Regions from separate parts of the Homo sapiens genome. Here region 1 is linked to region 2. Evidence: promoter capture Hi-C in human tissues and cell types (Jung and others, 2019). All regions are on one chromosome and are shown on one strand. Each heading gives the region's core, a stretch centred on a gene start or on the middle of the fragment in contact. The rest is flanking DNA. Distances are from core to core; before and after follow the strand shown.

What was found. Contacts are between HindIII fragments. The study calls those that stand out against the background at their distance.
Region 1: a contact is called between a fragment that was not itself captured here and the fragment with the promoter of MAMDC2 in region 2, in 2 of the 25 tissues and cell types used here (dorsolateral prefrontal cortex and spleen).

Annotation. Positions count from the first base shown.
Region 1 is chr9:70,119,952-70,126,232 of GRCh38, reverse strand. It overlaps MAMDC2 (MAM domain containing 2), which reads right to left. Exons shown (of 14, transcript NM_153267.5): 6 at 1-74. Among named protein-coding and RNA genes, the nearest start is that of MAMDC2-AS1, 53 kb to the left of the region's middle. The HindIII fragment of the contact is 3,504 bases long and covers 924-4,427 here.
Region 2 is chr9:70,041,222-70,047,788 of GRCh38, reverse strand. It overlaps MAMDC2 (MAM domain containing 2), which reads right to left and starts at 3,941. Exons shown (of 14, transcript NM_153267.5): 1 at 3,558-3,941; 2 at 3,092-3,205. The coding sequence starts at 3,591. It overlaps LOC124902179 (a long non-coding RNA gene), which reads left to right and starts at 3,748. Exons shown (of 2, transcript XR_007061571.1): 1 at 3,748-3,835. RefSeq lists a silencer at 3,662-3,956. The HindIII fragment of the contact is 1,989 bases long and covers 3,297-5,285 here.

The sequences.
Region 1 (6,281 bases), core at 1,426-3,925, 80 kb before region 2:
GGTCAACGGGGAGATGAGCTGTGCCACCTCCTGGAAGTGCTTCACATAAACTGAGTCCACGTACATGTAGTGGCCTGAAAATCACACAGACAGAGCACAGTGTTAAGAGTTGGGGGTGGGGGAGGGGAAGAGGTTCAGGCGAAATGGTGTGATTCTGCATTCTAAATAATCCAGTGGGAATGGTGAGGAGGAAGTGGATGAGTTACAGCTGACAGAGGTTTGGCCATGAGTGGATGGAGAAATGTTGCAGCTGAGAGATGGGTCCATGGGGTTCATTGCACTCTGCTAAATACAGGATGAGACCATTCCTTTTACTTTCCTTACTTTTGATTCAAGTAAAATATACACAGAGAAAGGTAGATGTGTCATCTGTCAAGTGCTTAAGTTTTCACAAGCTGAACACACCCATGGAGAGAAATAGAACATTACCTGAGAAGCCACTCCCTCCCAATCCTTATTTGAGTCATAAGACTCTGAAGAGCACACAAAGACAAAGCTTACCATCTATTCTTAAAAGGGCATGGAGAGACCCTCCTGCACATGTTTACAATTAATGCAAGATGTCACCATGTGTTTTTTGAGTGAAACTAAGATTTTGAATTCCAACTATATGGCAATTTGTGTGTTGTTAATAGCATGCAAGTCAATCGACACTGAAATTTGGAGGAGTGAATGTGTGGTACCACTCTTGGCAGGTCTTTGTGGGCTCTGGACCCAGAGGCTGGCCTCCATTAGGGGCATCTTGGTGAAACACAGAAACCATGTGGCAGAATGGAGACAGCCTTGACTTAGCATTGAAGAGAAATGAGGTTGAATCCTGCTCCACTTCTTACTAGCCCTGTGACCTTGAACAAGTTTCTGAGTATGTCTGGGTCTCAATTTCCTGATCTCTAGAATGACAATCAAATACTTTCCTCATAGAGGCAATGAATATTACATGGAGTCATGTATGTAAAGTGCTTAGCGTGTGCCTGGTACATTGTAGCTGTCTAACAATTACAACGCCATTCACAATTCTAGAACCATGCTTGCCCTATAGCCTGTTTTGTATAAAGGGTAAGCTATCATTGTTAGCAATTTTTTCTGAATTCATTTGAGTGATGACAAAGAAGTGCTATTCAATGCAGCTTCAACAGAATGCCCTTTCTGTTTACAAGCTCAGAATAATTACAGCTTAATATCTTCATTTCCATGACATAATTTCTGGTTAATAAGAATTCCTGGCCAGGTGCAGTGACTCATGCCTGTAATCCCAACACTTTGGGAGGCTGAGGCGGGAGCATTGCTTGAGGCCAGGAACTTGAGACCAGCCTGGGCAACATAGTGAGACCCCTGTCTCTACAGAAAAGCTTTCTTAAAATTAGCTGGGCATGGTAGCATGCACCTCTGGTCTTAGCTATTAGGGAGGCTGAGGCAGGAGAATCACTTGAGCCTATGAGTTCAAGGTTGCAGTAAGCTATGATCACACCACTGTACTCCAGCCTGGGTGATAAGCAAGACCCTGTCTCCAAAAAATAAAATAAGGAAATAAAGAATACCTTTTCTCCATTATGAAGAGCAGAGCAGAAACAAATATTAGGAGGAGCATATGCATTTATACACTGGACATTTACTGTGTATCTAGTACATAGCCCGGTATGTGGTGGGCTCTCAACACATGGTTATTTAATGTACAGACATGGTCTCAGAAAGGTCCTCATCTCAACATGGCAGAAGGGAAAAATGGACAGGTCAAAGCTCACTTTCTCCTGGTGGCAAGTTGTTCAACATCCTGAATCCCCTGAATAATCTTCTTTGAATATAGTTTACCTTATCGTTTTGCCAAACCACACAACAGTGAATAAACAGAGATTACAAACTCAAATTCTCAGAGGAGGCAGCCAGATTAAGTGTATGAGTGAAGTTGATTGAGTCAGGGAGAAAATAGAGAGTGGTAAATTAGTAGCCAGTATTTGAAATCATATTTCCCCCACATCGAGAAACAGAAATCAAGCTTATCTGGAAAAATAAAAACATCTGATAGTCCTAGGCCCATATTCTTATGCGGCAATAACCGGCTTGGGGTGAGAAGCCTGGCCCCTCACCCCCATGTTCTCCAGCCTCCCTGAGAGAGCAGGGTCTACTGCAGCGGATGCCCGGCACCCAGCCCCATGCTGCAGGCTTTCCCCATCCTAGCCTGGAATTCAGGTTTTCACGGCAAATCTATCCATTTTTAAGGGATGCTTCCTGTGTGGTTTGCTAGGGCTGCTGTCACAAAATACTGCAAAGTGGGAGGCTTCAGCAACACACATGTATTGCCTCACAGTTCTGGAGTCCAGAAGTCAAGGATCAAGGTGTCAGCAGGGATTGTTCCTTCTCAGGGCCGTGAGGGAAGGATTTGTTCTGGGCCTCTCTCCCGGCTTCTGGTGGTGTGCTGGCAATCTTTGGCATTCCTTGGCTTGAAGGCCTCTGCCTTTATCTTTACATGGCATTCTCCCTGTGTACATTTCTCTCTGTGCCCAAAGTTCCCCTTTTAATAAGGACTGCGGTCATATTGGATTGGAGGCCCACCCTACTCCAGCATGACCTCATCTTAGCTAATGACCTCTGCACCCATCTATGTCCAAGCAAGGTCACATTCTAAGTCCTGGGGGTTAGGACTTCAACATTTGAATTTTGACTGTGCACAATTCAACGCCTAACACTCCCCACCATATTTTTTTAAACTTTGTATGCGCCAAATAAACATATCTGCAGGCTGGAAACCACTGTTGGCTCCACTTTGCCACCTCTGGGCAGGAATTTTAAAGGAAGAATCGGAATGACAGACTGGATAGAATCAAAGAACCTCTGATATGGAGGGAAGGTCACTCCTCCATATCCCAAGCTTGGAAACCCTCTAAAGCACTCCTGGTGGCCAGCAAGCCTTGACGAGAACATTCTAGTAGTGGAGAATGCCTATGACCAGTTAGCTTCTGTAATCTGCTTCTGTTCTCTAAGAACTCATGTGAATATCAAAGACAGAGATGAAGTCTTCATTGCTCTTTGTAACATGACTTACCAATGAAACAGAATCTTTTTGTGAGATATGAGCAGGGAGAACTGAGTGGAGGAGAGCTACAATTCTTTGTATTATAATGTATGTGTAATACTTTGTTTCCTGGATACCTAATTGCAGGGGCCACAGAGATCCCCTTTAAGAGAACTTGCTGAAGGAACCATCATTGACTGGGTCTCCAGCCACCTCACCTTTGGACCTGCAGGAGAGTTTGTACCAAGACCACACCACTCTGGGCTGCTCCCAGGCAGTGACCAAGCATAGCAGAGGGGCAGGCCATTCTGTCTGCCATGGGGCCCTTCAGCAGCTCCCATCGGCCCAGGTTCTCCTCTTCCTCAGGGGTCAGGTTTGCGTCCTGAGCTGAAAGTTTTCCCTACCCAGGGCATCTTTATGACTTTTGTGGGCTCATTCCTCCATAAAAAAAATAAAAATAAATAAAATAATCTTAACATTTTAGTTTATTACTACATTGGCATAAAGAGGTATATGATGTAGGCTAGAAATTATTATATTCATTTTACCCTTCCAATTTTCAAATAAATAAAATTAAAATATTGTCATGGACCCCTAAAAATGCCATGGCTCCTAGGCACTATGGCTGCTGTGCCCCATAAGGACACTGGGCCTGTCCCCAGCTACTCTGGCTCCTTTCTCCTCAGAGCCTTCATAGCCATCTCTCCCAGGAAATCTCTTTCCCACCTAGTCCCAGCTTAGTGTCAGCTTCCACAGCCAGCCTTGTTGTAAATTCATCTTCCTTGCAGATGACGGACATCTGAGAGTTGTCTTTAAAGGGTAGTAACTCACCTGCTGTGTGGACAATATTTTGTGCATTTGCAGCCAAAGTGCCTCACTAGCAACTTGTGCTCAGGATGCTAGGCCAAGTGAACCACAGTCACATTTCTGATCCAAAAAGCATCCAGAAAACACAACATGATCTGCCCAAAGTGAGTCAGAGAGGCTGCTGGGAATAAGACCAAGACTGCTGACACTAAGTCTCATACAGAACCACCAGACTAGACCGCATGCTCTTGTACCCTTTTTCTTTCCATCATTCATTTGTTGCCAAAGCTGGGTTCTATTTACTGACAATTTGAGCAACATTAAGCTTCTCATTGGGGAACAAAAGGTAGCTCATCATGAGTTTACTATCTCAGTTGAACTGTTAGGGGTGATTCAGAAATTGTCATTCAGGTGTCTGCCCCAGGAGAAGAGGCTGGAGGAATGACAGCCAAACCAGGCTGAGTGTGTCATCAGATACAATCTGTTCTGAGGAAGAGGAGTCAATGGGTAGGTGGCTGCAGGTGCCATTGTATTCTCCTTTCTAAAAACAATGATGGTAGCCTGGAGTTCTTGGAAAATTTTGTCCAGTGTCTGATATTAGGAGAATCTTCCTGCCTAGTTCAATGAACCCAACACTCCTATCTGGCATAGGGCTCTAGAGCTTCCAGAACCTCTGGAAAAGGCTTTTTTTTTTTTTTCCTTTGTCAGATCGTTAAGATTCAAGTAGGATGAAACTAGGTATAGATGGACTTTAAGTAGACAGAATCCTTTAATCTGCCAAATCACTGGATACCCTGCAGGCCACAGAGATTCTAAAGTATTACAACTTGAACTGAAAACGAAAGAGGTTATATGGGGGAAATGGGTTCCCCCATAAGATTAAGAATTGAGAAGCTTATTGCCATTCCTCTACAATCTGTTCTGCTTTGCCATACACAGAGTGAAAATCAATCTATTATTACCTAATTCTGGATTATACACAAAGAGCCTGAGGTTTCTAGGCAAAAAAAAAATTCAAATTCAGTTGAAAGAAAGATCACAGTTCTCAGTCATGCTGCCAGTGCTCAGGCCCCTTCTGGGATGGAGCCTGCAGTGCTGGTGTATGCACACTTGCTCCTGAAGAGGCTGTCTGTTCCTTTCTTGCAGCAGCCCTCTGTATTAGCTGAACTTTTCATGTGGAACCAGTGGCCCCTGGTAGTCAGCCATTTCCCCTTGCATTAGGGAAAGAACTTTAAAGGCGGTTCCTGAATGTTTATTTTCAAGCAGTCTGGCTCACCAGCATTCCCCTAAGACTGCCCTTGGCTTGGCCGCGGTGCCAGAGGCATCCTCTGACTCAGCTGTGATGCGCCCTGCTGGCCACATTTGCACTCCAGTTGTGTTGTCTGCTCCAGTGTTGCTGGTTGTCTGGACAAGCTGTCTCCCCAGTAGGGCAGACAACCTGGTCTGAAGAGATGTATGCCAGAGGGAAATACCCACTGGTCTGCTGCCATGGTGAGCAGACGGCACCCAAAGATAATGAGTTATGATGCATGTTTTTCCACCCTATGAGTCTGACAGTTATCTTCACAAGCCTTTAGTTGTAAGGGTTTTGGTGGCCCTTACTATGATAAAGTCAGACTCTAGTCTTTTTATACAGCTTTCAAGGATGACGTAAGCATGAATGAATATTACGTGAGACTTCTCCTATCTGTGCTAAGACCTCAAAGCCCCAAACAATAAGTGACAACAACCTCTATTTTCTAAAGAGTGGTGCTAGACTGTCAATATGTTAAGTGGCAGCCCCTGGCACCTACCCCAGCTCTACAAGTGTTAGCCCATCTCTCCCTTGTAGCCTGTGCATATGAGAAGGCTCGAGATGAATCAGAGAGATTGGAGATGGGGTTTCTATAAAGAGTTGGGTTAGAGCTGCCCTGCTATGTGTTTCCTTTTGACCTCTCCAGGGAAGGCAAGGGGATTGCTTCCCTTTTCTTACCTTGATCTAAAGGAGGGGGCTTAAGCGAACCACTCATGGAAGAGGTAGAGGAAGGAAACTGCCATGTAACCTCATCCCCTCCCTTTTGAGCAGAAATTTCTGAGCTCTGCAGTTGCTCTGGACCTTGAGATGAAAGTAATCAGAGTTCTTGAAAAAGGTTGATCAGTGATACTGGAGTGTGTGTGTGTGATGCAGAGATGGAGCCTGGCACTGGTGCATACATCTAAAGGCAAAAAACTGACTATAGGGACCCGTAGGGGAAGAGTAGAGAAAAAGGAGTTTGTTGCCAGTGAAATGCACTTCCAGAGTTTGAGGGGGCAATTTAGAAGGCAGCTGGGCTACAGTACCTTAAAAGGACTCTTCTCAAGAGAACTGCCTACCAGTGCGGTAATTCCATTAGAAGGGAGCTGGTAGGGCATACCGTGACTTATATGAGCTAAGCAGGATTCACAGATGGTCAGCCAGAGAGTTGCTCATCCCTGTCTGTCAACA
Region 2 (6,567 bases), core at 2,692-5,191:
TGTGATGAAACCCCAGTTCGCAGATTTGTGTCCCAACTTACCTTCCTTCTCTGGCCTTTTGCATTGTTCTCTCCACAATAAATTAACCTACGGACCATGGACATATAAGAAGTGCATCTGGCACATATGTTTATTGCAGCACTATTTACAATAGCAAAGACATGGAACCAACCCAAATGCCCATCAGTGATAGACTGGATAAAGAAAATGTAGCACATATACAGCATGGAATACTATGCAGCAATACCAAAGAGTGAGTTTATGTCCTTTGCAGGGACATGGATGAAGCTGGAAGCCATCATTCTCAGCAAACTAACACAGGAACAGAAAACCAAACACCTCATGTTCTCACTCATAAGTGGGAGTTGAACAATGAGAACACACGGACACAAGGAGGGGAACTTCACACACCGGGGCCTGTTGGGGGTGGGGCGCAAGGGGAGGGAGAGTATTAGGACAAATACCTAAAGCATGCGGGGCTTAAAACCTAGATGACGGGATGATAGGTGCAGCAAACCACCATTCACATTTATACCTGTGTAACAAACCTGCACATTCTGCACATGTATCCCAGAACTTAAAGAAAAAAAAAAAAAGAAGTGCATGTGGGCAAAAGTCTCTGAAACCCACTACTTTCCATGGTGGATCCAGTACATGAAGGTGAATGGAACCATGGAACCAGTTTCAAAGGGTTTCTGCAGGAAGAAGTGCATTTGCAGAGAAGCTTGTGAACAGCTTGCCAAATTTCAGCCTGGAAGAATTTTATTATCTTTAATTTACCAACCTAGAAATGGGCTTATAAGGGAAATTCTTAGCGATGTCTTCTTAGGCAACCACAGCAACTGCCACACACCTACCTCACTGCCCTGGAGCCTGCAGTACACTGTTACGTCCAAGTTCTGGCCTTTGACAAACTGAAGCTGGAACAACTGGAGCCTAACCTGCCTGCTCCACCCTGGAGTGCTCAGAGGAGAATGAATTAACTTCCGCCAGCCAACCCAGTAGTCCCAGTCCTGAGCCAGAAAGCAGTGGTTGTTAGAAAGAATGCAGAAAGCAAAGCCACAGTGCCTTCGTTATACTATTAAACTGTAATCACCTTTTTCTATAAGCATCTTCCTGTTTTCCCTGAAGGGGGATGGTTTAACTGCTGTCCTGGGGCAGAGGTGCCAACTCAGCAGAGAGACTTCCTGTGGGTCTGGGAGGCAGTTGTGTTCAGCAGGCTGTGGCATGCCCACTGACCAGAGGCAGGCTGTGAGGGGGCCCCCATCCTGACAGAGGGCCGGAGGCAGGAACTCAGAGACTAACTAAGGCTCCTGGCTTAAGGAATGATGTTGATTTCCTTTTCTCAGGGCCAGCACTAGGATGAGGCAAGCCAAGTGCTTAGGGAACAAGACTTAAGTAGCTGTTCACTCTCGGGTCCTGCAAGTAGCTCCTTCACCCTAGTGCCAGACCTACTCAGAGCCAACAACAGCACAGGTTGTGTGTGTGTGTACACAGACTGTGGAAGTCGGCAGTTCTCAAAGTGTAGTCCCGAGACCAGCATCATCAGCATCACCTGGGAACTTGTTAGAAATTCTCAGGCCCCCTGAATCAGACACTCAGGAAGTGGGGCCCAGCAATCTGTGTCTTACAAGCCCACCAGGTGATTCTGATGCAGCTGAGGTTTGAGAAGCCCCGTGCTGGAGGAGTGTGCTCTCCAAAGCCAGTCTCGTGGCATTTCTAAGGCCATCTCCCGCAATGCTTCCATACAGCCAGTATAGGGAAAGGGTGAGTGGCAAGATTACAGAGACTTTCCTAAAGCCATCAGCAAGATAGGAATCCCTCGAATAATAAATCAAGAATTGCTTTTTCCCAGCCACCCCTAAGTAGACTGTAGTAGTCAAGACTTGGCAATTGTTGGATAAAGATGGAGATTACTACTGAACCAGTTCCTTCCTGTTTCTTCCTAACTAGACACTCAGAGTTAGCCACTCAGTGACACTGTGATATGGACTAGCCATTTGAATATTCTATGGCTGAGATTCCTTCCTCTGTAAAACGGGTCCAACATCACCTACCTGTGAGGGTCAGAGAAGCTAATGTATGCAGAACCCTGAGTAGAAGCCTGGGGCAGAGTGAGCTGTGGTGACAGTTCATACATCTAACCAGGGGTTCCGGGCTCCATCCTCCCCCAGGGAGCGAGGTGGGAGGATCTGCGGCCTGAGGACAATTGAGTGGGGAAGGAGGTGAGCTGGTTTCATCTAGGGTACCATGTTTTTTAAAGAAGGCTATTTTCCAATCCAAATAGTCTGTGGGCATCAGGCTTCACTGGTGGTGACAAAAGAGAGAGAAAGGAAAGAAGGGACACCCAGTGCCGCCTGCCATTGGGTACTGAGAACCACACTTTAAAACAAAAAACAAAAAAAACTATATAAAGGCAAGATGACACTTCAGAAGACCCCACATTTAAACTTTGTCCTTGGGACCCAAACAGTATAGAGTAGTAAGACAATGACCACCAGTGAGACAGGGACCCCAGGCATTTGGCAGTGTACATGGTTTCTTTTGTCCAGGGCAGGATTACAAACAGGAGTGTGAGGATGAAATCATGCAGCAAAAAACACTGTCAGGGTCAAGGCAGACGTGATGTCTTAGCACTGACGTCCCATCACAGAATTGTGGAACCATTTCTGCAAAGCTGAAGGAGAACTAGTCCCATGCAACTTTTCCCAACTCACAGACATGTCTCCTGAGGACCAGAAAGGTTGCTGGCCTGCAGAGGCACACAGCTGGTGTGCCTGCAGAGGCCCACAGCGGAGAACAATCATTAGCTGTGCTCCGTTTCTCCCTTCCATTAAGGAGTGCTGGGGTGAGACGCAAATTTTAAGCTTCTACCCATAGGCCAGGTAAACAAAGGGCGGCCTCCCGCCCGCCCCGTTCCTGCCTCGGCCATCCCTTGCAGCACAGCTGAGGGCTTGAAGGAGGATCCATGACTCACACTTTTCTTGCCGCGGAGAATTAACTCCAAGATAACATTACCCATGTGGGAAAAAAAAGCAAGCCATCAAGGAAGAAAGTTCACTTCGCGCCCCTCTCCACCGAGCCTCCTTACCTTCCTCATTTAAAATCCACGGCAGAGAGGCCAACACGGAGTCAAAGCCGCAAGTGCTCTCTTCAAAGGCACAGGACCCAGCGGGCAGGTCGAGGGCACCGGCGAGCTGCAGGGCTGCGGGCACAAAGCGAGTTTCAGTTCGAGCTCCACCCAGGAGCCTTTGCACCAACTCGGGGAGCCCCAGGGGGACTACCTGGTGAAAGTGGGGGAAAGACGAGCGGGAGGGGGCGGGAGAGGGATGCAGTACCTGTCCCCCAGCATCCCCGGGCGCCTCCACTGAGCGACCCCACGCCCACCCCCACCCCCACCCCAGGCTTGGCCAGGGGAGGGAGTTAGCGGCTGCGGAGGATCAGGAGGCGCCCTCGGATGGCCCAGCCCAGCACGGTGAGCCGGACCCCCGGGGGCAGCAGGAGCGGGGGCGAGTCGTCAGAGCGCCCCCGGGGTTGTCCCGGGGTCCAGGCCTTACCTTGCAACGCCAGGAGGACGCCCCTTAACAGCATGGTCGCGTTTCAGGGAGGATGACTAGGAAGGGGTGCAAGTTGCCAGCCCGCTGGGACTGGCTGCTCCTAGTGAAAGGGATCGTGGGAGGCGGGGGCGCCGGGGACCCAAGGAGGGAGAAGTCGAGAGGCAAAGCTTGCGCTCTGAGCTGCCCAACTTTGCAGAGCGGCTCCCGGAGCCGAGCGGTATGCTGGAAGGTGCTCGAATGGAGAGCGCCAGCGCCCCGGCGCTGAGCAGCAGCCTCAGGTCAGACCGCGGCCCAGCTGGTCCTGGGCGACGATGGGGCTGGACAGGGAGGAGACAACTGCACACTTTGAAAGGCCAGCCACGACTGGCTGGGAGAGGAGAGGTCGGCCCGCAGTGCCTTCGCTCAGGATTTTAAAGCTTGGGACCAGAGCCCTTGCAGACACTTGGAAGGGGCAGGCCTTCCAGGAGTCCCTCCGCTGGGTTGGGACCCGAGGCTCCCGCCCCGCCCAGCCGCGGTGGGAACTCGCTTATTTCTGGGGACAGCTTCCCTGCATCTGGCATGTCAGTCCCGCAGGGCTGGCCCTAATTTTAACTTCTTCTCCCCAGAATGAAAGAGGGTGGAATTCTCCAAGGACAGCCTGGAGGAAAATTTGGAAACGGTTGGGTGGAATAAGCTTTATATCTAAGGAGTTTCAGCGTTTACGGTCCAGCAATGCTAACCCTGGAATACCACCCCCACTTTTTTTAGCCGGTGGAATGTCTGGCATGCCTGGTGCTCAGCATTCCCTCCGTCCGGTGAAATGGGGGCATTCCTTCTCTCCAAAGAGCCATGATAGATTGATTAATGGGAGGCTTTACACTGGGAGGGGGTTGTTGGGGAGGGAGTTACTTCTGAGGAAGCTGTTTGCTTTGGGCACTAAGTGGGTCTCCAACAATATTCTTTTCTTGTAAAGAGTTCTTCTTCCTCCCCTCCTCTTCCTCCTCCTCCTCCTCCTTTCTCCCATTTATAATTTTGTGCAGGCAATTTTGTGAGGAGGGCAGTGGTTTTAAAACCTGAGGGTGCATCAGAATCTGCTGAAGGGCCTCACCCTCCGTTTCCGATCCAGTAGCTCTGGAGTGGGCCTGAGAGGCTGCACGTCCCTAATAAGTTTCCAGAGGCTGCTGCTGCCGCAGCGGGTTTGGAACAATACTTTGAGGACCACTGGCCTAACAAACTCCAGTTGAGCCATCAGTTCAACCTGCTCCCATGCCTTCACCTGGCTTCCAGACCGCTGGGTTTCCTGGTCTTTCATTGGCCGCCGCTTCTCGGCCTCTTTGCGTTACCTCTGTAACCCCTTAACATGAGAGTGCCTCCAAGTTCTTCCCTGTCACTCCTGTTTCTTTCTCTATCCAGCCCCTCAATGCTGTCCTCAAGTCTCATAGTTTTAGATACCAATGATAGCCTGATAACTCCCACATTTATATTTCTAACCCAGACTACTCACTAACGCCAGACTCTTCGATCTCATTGCCACCTCAACATTTCCAATCGGATGCTTCAGAGCTATTTCATACTTAACAGGTCCCAACATGAAGGCTGCATATTTCTTGCCAAACCTGCCCGTCCCCTGTGTCTTCCTCATCTCAGTAAAAGAACTATTTTCCTCCAGTTGTTCAGGAGAGAAAACTTGGAGGCATCTTCAGCTCATCCGTTCCTGTCAGACATTGCCAATTTCTATCAGCTCAGGATTCAAAACACAGCAGATGCTGACCATGCTCTGTGCCCATGGTGGTGATGCCTTGGTTGGTCCAAGCTGCCCTTGCCATCAACCTGGGATACCGCAGTGGCCTCCTGACCACGGTCTCCCTTCATTTTCTGCCCTGCCCACCCTACTCTATTCTGAACACACTAGTCAGGGTTATCCTTTTAATACAGAAATTGGGCCATGTCACTCCTTAGCTCAAGACCCAACAAGTTCCCAAGTCATTTAGTAAAGTCCAAAGTCTTCACGATGACCAACCAGGCCCTATAGGACCTGCTCCACCCTTTTCTTTCTTTTCTTGCTTTCCTTCTTTTTCTTTTTTTGAGACAGAATCCCACCCTGTCACCAGGCTGGAGTGCGATCTCTGTTCACTGCAAAGTCCACCTCCCAGGTTCAAGCAATTCTCCTGCCTCAGCCTCCCAAGTAGCTGGGATTACAGGCGTGTGACACCACGCCCAGCTAATTTTTGTATTTTTAGTAGAGACAGGGTTTCACCATGTTGGCCAGGATGGTTTCAATCTCTTGACATCATGATCCACCTGCCTCGGACTCCCGAAGTGCTGCGATTACAGGCGTGAGCCACTGCACCCAGCCCCACCCTCTTATTTCTCTGACTTCAATCACCCTGCTTACTCTTCTCTAGCCACACAGACCTCTTGGCTGATCCTCAAACACAGTCCAGCTATCCTTTCAGAATTTTGCACTGGCTGTTCTTTCTGCTCAAAATGCTCTTCCACAAAGAGCCACACAACTCACCGCCTAATGAGGTCTTCACTCAGATGTCACTTTCAGTATTAGAAAATTAGTAACCTTCTCCCTAATAAGGAAAATATATCTGGAATCCTTTTTTAAAGGTAGGAACAAATTTTCATGTGTTTTCTGTAAACAATGATTCAAATGGTCAAAAATTTATTCATTAGTGTGTGCTATTTGGTGTATATGTATCTTTTTTTATTTATATGCTTTGCCTCAGGTAGTAGCTAATAATAACATTTATTGTGTTTACCATTATAAATGTTTTATGTAGATAATCTCATTTAAGCTTCACAAAATCTCTACAGGATAAATATGTTCATTATCCCCATTTAATAGATGGGGAAACTGAGGCACAGAGTTCAGTGACTGTGGACAGTAGAGACAAAACTCAAACCCAGATCTGCTTTATTCCAAAAGCCTATTTTCTCAACCAGTACAGGACTTCTCTCACTTGGGTCTTATATTCTTTTTTTTTTTGACTTCTTGATCACAGATGGTGCTAAATATCTGATG